Regions from separate parts of the Homo sapiens genome. Here region 2 is linked to region 1. The links are contacts of gene promoters, found by promoter capture Hi-C in blood cells and fetal thymus (Javierre and others, 2016). All regions are on one chromosome and are shown on one strand. Each heading gives the region's core, a stretch centred on a gene start or on the middle of the fragment in contact. The rest is flanking DNA. Distances are from core to core; before and after follow the strand shown. Region 1 holds the start of MARCKSL1 (MARCKS like 1). Region 2 overlaps KHDRBS1 (KH RNA binding domain containing, signal transduction associated 1).

Region 1 (2,929 bases), core at 317-2,816:
GCCTGGGGCCCTGCCTCTTCTTCTGAGGCTGCACTAGCCTCTGCCCCCTTGGCCTGGGGTTCCTGGCTCTCAGGGGTGGCTGCGGCCTTCCCTTCCTGAGCAGTGCCCTCGTCGCTGCAGGCACCGATCTCCCCCTGCTCCTGCTCTTCCTCTGTGGGTGAGGAGGCAGAAGAATCACCCCCACCCTCCTTCCGATTTCTCTTGAAGGACAGGCCGCTCAATTTGAAAGGCTTCTTGAAAGAGAATTTCTTCTTCTTCTTGGGGGTCTCCTTGGGGGGGACCTCCCCCTTGGCCTCAGCACCCTGGCTAGGGGGTGCTGGCTCGATGGCATCGCCAGTGGCCCCGGCTGCCTCATCTGTTCCGTTCACAGGGGGCGACTCCCCTTCACCCTTGGGGGATAAGTCTCCATTGCTTTTCACGTGGCCATTCTCCTGCAGGGCAGAGGGAATAGCAATGAGGGCAGGGGCTCCCCCTCCCCCAGCCCGCTTCTGATCCCTTCTAGAGGAAGGGGTCCTCGATTCGATTCTACTGCAACCCGAAAGTCTGGCTTCAGCCTCACCCACACCCAGGATCCCGTCAAACACCTCCCTCTCGCCCCTCACGGGCGCGCGGGGAGCGAGCGCGCAGAGGGCGCGACCGGCAGGAGGCGCTGGGGTCCCGTGGCCCCCACCCCCGTCCCCCGGGGCGCGCTCTCTATTCCGCGCGGAACCGCTCCGGATCTGCTGTGCGGATCCCGGGCAGGCGGGCGAGCCGCTCTAGGCGACATTGGGCGGGAAGCCGCCCCGGGGCGCTGTCTCTCTGCACCTGGACGGCCTATTTTCCCAGCCTCCCGCTTTGTGTAAGTGGCCCCCACCCACCCCAGGCTCTCCCGCATCTCGGCTCCCCCTTAAAAAAAAAAAGACCGTGGGCCACCGAGGTCGGGTCGGCGGGTGGAGTGCGCTCCCCGCCGGGCCCCAGCTCCGCGGCCCCTGGGCGCCCCCTTGGCGTGGCCCAGCAGCGCCTTTGTTCCCCGCGCGGCACTCGGGGCGGCCGGGGGGCAGCGCCGGGGACCGGGGCCGCGAACAAAGAAGGCGGCAGGGCCCGGCCGGCGCCCCCTCCCCGCCCCTCCCCTCGCTTCGCCCGCGGGGGCTGCGGCGCCGAGAACAAAGGGACCGGGCGGGGGAGGGGGCGCCGCGTGTCCCGGGCCGGACAAAGCGCGCGGCCCCGGCCCCGGCCCCGGGCCCTAGAAGGGGCGAGGTGCGAGAGGAGGGGCTGGGGCCGGCCGGGCCAAGCGTACCCACCTGGCCGTTGGCCTTCGCGGGGGAAGCGCCTGCTGCCTCCTCGGCGGTCACGTCGCCCCGGGGAGCCTTGGAGCTCTGGCTGCCCATGATGGGGGTCTGCTGGGGGGCGCTTGGAGCCGCCCCGGGCTCGCGCCGCAGGGGATAGTACGGCGGGGTCGGCCCGGCCGGCGGAGGGGTGGGGCTGGCGCCCGAGGGGGAGGGGTGCCGGGGGAAGCCGAGCTGCACCTCCGCTCCGCGGCCGACCCGCTAGCTGCGCCCGCCGCCGCTCCGCTCCGCGCCAGAATGCCGCCCGCCGCCCGCCGAGCTGCCTATATATAAGCGCCCGGAGCTCGGGGCGGGGCCGGACATTTAAATGCGCGCCCAATCGAGGGGCGGAGGCGGGGTTGGCTCGCAGGCCCCACTTGCGCAGCAGGCGACGCTGGCGGTCGGGTACCCCCCACCCCACCCGAATCCCAGGGGCAGGTAGAGTCCGGTGTGGGCAGGAGCGAGGCCAGTCCTCCCGCGAGCTGGGCGGGGCGGGGCGGGGGGCCTGGAGGAAGGAGACGGGCAGTCATTCCATCCTCTCCGCTCCACCTCTCCGGTGGGCGCCCCCGCAGCCTGGAGCGGCCCCCAACGCCTTGGTCCTGCAGCCGCTGGCAGTCTCCCGCTTGAACCCTTCGAAGGGCTCACACGACCAGGCTCGTCAGATGGCTGGTCCTGAATTATACTCTAGAAATGTGGTCATAGAAGCTGCAGGGCCCCTGCGCTGGGCTCGGCACCCGCTCCGGCCTGGAGAGCGGTCAGAGGTCCCACCCACGTCCCTGCCTGCCTGCCATGGCCAGCCGGGGAGCGGAGGGCTCTGCCTTGCCTCGGGGTCACTCTGGTCGGACTAGTGAGGCCTTTCCCTCATTCCTCCTTTCAGTCCCTTGGTGGCCAGTCATTCTGAGTGGGGACAGACAGATTCGCCTTGAGCCCCTCCTGCCCTCAGCCTGGACCCACTGCAAAGTCCCACGTGGGGGACTTTGTGACCTTGAAGGGCATCTCCATCCCCATTGAAAGGCCAAGGCTCAGAGGCATTGACAACCTGTCTGACTTGGCTCTGGTCCTTCCTCTTTACCTCCACACACAACTCTGCTCCCCTACATCAGGGTGCCCCAGGCCGGCAGAGGAACCCCAGCTGGGGACTCAACAAACCTCAAAACACCCCAGTTTCTGAAGGGGAGGGATAGGATGCTACCAAGGGTCCCTTCAAGGGACAGCCCCTTGAGGACAGCCCTCAAAGCTGCCCAGCCCAGCTTCCCACCCTGCCTGAGAGCAAGGGAGCCCGGAGGTGCTCCGGGCTGGAGACTCCCTAGCTTTGGTCCTCTGCCACCTCTCCTTCTGCTGGCCTGGATAGGCTGGTGGGAACCCCAGAATCCTGGCCGGCCCCGGATGTCTGTGTCCGGCTGCCAGCCCTCAGCCCCCAGGAGGAAAGGGATGGGGGCTGGAAGGAAGCAAAGTGTTGCAAATGCAAGGCTGTGTCCCAGCCAGCTCAGCAAGTCCCTCCCCTCCCTCCTACGGTGAAGCCTCCTGGGAGGCCTGAGGCTGTGAAGTGTGGAGACACCCCAGGGCCTGAGAAATTGGGAACTCCCCAGAGATCTGACCACAGAGGGGCGGGGAGGGCTGAGGTG
Region 2 (2,929 bases), core at 255-2,754, 300 kb before region 1:
CAGCTCCATTAATGGTAGTGGCTTTTATTATTCCAGGAAAAGGAAACTATTTGCAAAGAATGGATATGTAAGAGTATGCCAGGCTCTGAACTACAAGTTGTTCAGTCTGGCTTGTGAGTAGGTTATATATAGAGAGAGAATGGAAGTGATCCGGAGAGCTAGGCAGAGACCACATTATGAATAATGAGGGGTCTACCATCAAGACTTTTCTCAAAGAGGTGACAGATAGGGTGCCATTTGACTTCAGAGAAGGAATGACCTGAGACCTCATCTGGGCTCTCAAGAGCTCTTCTTAGAATTCAAGTCTCCCGTGGACCAGATGATTTCTCAGTAGAAAGTGTAGATACCACACAATACTCCTTGTATCTTTCGTTCCCAGGATATGATGGATGATATCTGTCAGGAGCAATTTCTAGAGCTGTCCTACTTGAATGGAGTACCTGAACCCTCTCGTGGACGTGGGGTGCCAGTGAGAGGCCGGGGAGCTGCACCTCCTCCACCACCTGTTCCCAGGTAAAAATAATGGAGACACCCAGAAATAGGATGTGAATTTGACTACTAGTGTCATCTCTTTTAGTGGTGCTCTTATGTCTAGCTTAGGAAGGGTCTCAGGATTTGTATGTTGCATAAAGAACAGAATTCTACAACCATACTCTCACACCTGTAATCCCAGCACTTTAGGAGGCTAAGGCAGGCGGATCAACTGACATTTGGAGTTTGAGACCAGCCTGGCCAACATGGTGAAACCCTGTCTCTACTAAAAATACAAAAATTATCCAGGTGTGGTGGCATACACCACACTACTCAGGAGGCTGGGGCAAGAGAATTGCTTGAACCCAGGAGACGGAAGTTGCAGTGAGCCGAGATCATGCCACTGCACTTCAGCCTGGGAGATAGAGCAAGACTCCATTTCAAAAAAAAAAAAAAATAGAGTTCTAGATCTTGGGCACTTTGACCATAGCCAAGTGCTGCAGTCTAGCTGAAACTTTTGGTCTTCTAATTTTGGACAGTCTTAGCATTTGTTAATGGTCTGACTTTAAAATTCTACCTTTTGTGACTGACCTTTATAGAGTATTCAGACTCTCCAGACCTACCCAAGGCAGTGCAGTGATGAATTGGTCCTCTATAGGACCTGGGGGATCTTGCAGTGTGGGTCCTTTACCCTGTACATTCCTCTGTGCTTTAATAATAGCCTAGTTAAGGCTTCATAAAATCTGCCTAATTCCAGAATTTGTAAACAAATCAGAACATAAAAGTGGCCTGTTTATAAAAAGCTCCATTTAAGATAAACTTTCATTTTGTAGGGGCCGTGGTGTTGGACCACCTCGGGGGGCTTTGGTACGTGGTACACCAGTAAGGGGAGCCATCACCAGAGGTGCCACTGTGACTCGAGGCGTGCCACCCCCACCTACTGTGAGGGGTGCTCCAGCACCAAGAGCACGGACAGCGGGCATCCAGAGGATACCTTTGCCTCCACCTCCTGCACCAGAAACATATGAAGAATATGTAAGAAATTTGAACAATGTGCCATTTCCCAGTACCTAGAAGGCTGCTAAAGGAAGTTGAATGACAGGGCCTCGGTCCTTTATGTAGGTGTCATGGACTGCCTGTAAGATTTGCAATCTGCCCTCTTCTCTTGCAGTGAATGTTGAACTATTAGAAGATTTTTCCATTTTAGGCAGGGTTTTACTATACGCCTGTAGATTAAACAAGAAATAAAATGTACTTTAATGTAGTATTTTATAATGAATTTCTTACTACTAGTACTGATAATACTAAAGCTCGATTTTGTACTTTACTTCCTGCCCACACTTCTTCTGTGGCATATCATATTTGTTTGGGTTTTCTTTGTTTAGTAACCCTTTCTCTTTTGACTATTCTACAGTAGGCATTAACATTTTGGAGGGAAATGTCATGTCCTTTTAATTCAGAAGCCTACTTACTCCCATGGGATGTAATTACCTTTCCTACTCTCTATGATTTTGATCTTTTATTTCATTTTTTTGTTGTTGTTGTTCTAGGGATATGATGATACATACGCAGAACAAAGTTACGAAGGCTACGAAGGCTATTACAGCCAGAGTCAAGGGTGAGTCAGGCAGTATAAGCACTGTTTTTTGTCCTGAGGATGGATGGAGGGAGTTGGAGGAACAGAGAGATTTAGACAGTACAACCCTAAGGAGCAGAATGGTTCGCCTTTTGAGGGTATCTCCTCTGCAACCCCCACAGTCCTGACTGGTCTTGAACTCTTGAGCTCAAGCAGTCCTCCCACTTTAGCTCTCTCTAGTAGCTGGGGTTACAGGTGCGTGCCACCATGCAATGCTTTCCTCTGCGTTTGACATCTGTGAAGCACACACTTGGATTTGTAAATCTGGATAACTGTGAACCTTAAATTATAATTTAGAACCTGAGAGTAACAAATGAAAAATTTCCAAGCTGTGACTACATGGAAACAAGGAGAAATGCCTTTATGTTATTTTGATTTATTATTTTAAAATATCAAAACCACATTAAAGCTCCATAAAATTTTACAAGAAACTTGAATTCCATTACCATAACTTAGGTTCTTTTCTGCATTTCTCTTTAAGACCATTTCCTTGTGTGTCCATATATATAGCTTACCTGTGAATTGATTGAAAAAGAGTTCCAGAATTCTACAGCAGTGATAAAACAGTTCTTTTTTCCTTCTGGTGAGCCCTATGAATACATGTATATATATGCTATATTAAAAGGGTCAATTTAGGATTGTGCTTTTTCACTTTATATTCTGTGGTATCCATTTTTCTTTGCAATAGTTGTCAATTATTTTATAAGTACATAGTCTATACATATTTTGGAAATACTTTACGGTTTAGGGATGGGGCAGAATGAGTATTTTCCTGTATTAATACACTTAGTAAAATGACTGACTTATGGAAGTATTTGAGAG

Evidence for each region. The method cuts DNA at HindIII sites, captures the fragments that hold promoters and counts their contacts. A CHiCAGO score of 5 or more calls a contact.
Region 2: a fragment that was not itself captured here is called in contact with the fragment with the promoter of MARCKSL1 in region 1 in 1 of 17 cell types (total CD8 T cells); the score reaches 5.9 in total CD8 T cells.

The regions. Positions count from the first base shown.
Region 1 is chr1:32,334,667-32,337,595 of GRCh38, forward strand. It overlaps MARCKSL1 (MARCKS like 1), which reads right to left and starts at 1,567. Exons shown (of 2, transcript NM_023009.7): 1 at 1,281-1,567; 2 at 1-431. The coding sequence starts at 1,367. It overlaps LOC124903949 (a long non-coding RNA gene), which reads left to right and starts at 711. Exons shown (of 2, transcript XR_007065661.1): 1 at 711-838. RefSeq lists silencers at 389-828, 969-1,048, 1,179-1,328, 1,349-1,878, 2,812-2,929 and enhancers at 1,220-1,789, 2,059-2,148. The HindIII fragment of the contact is 20,076 bases long and covers 1-2,929 here.
Region 2 is chr1:32,036,531-32,039,459 of GRCh38, forward strand. KHDRBS1 (KH RNA binding domain containing, signal transduction associated 1) reads left to right here. Exons shown (of 9, transcript NM_006559.3): 5 at 380-513; 6 at 1,305-1,506; 7 at 2,022-2,089. Among named protein-coding and RNA genes, the nearest start is that of KHDRBS1, 24 kb to the left of the region's middle. The HindIII fragment of the contact is 3,062 bases long and covers 1-2,929 here.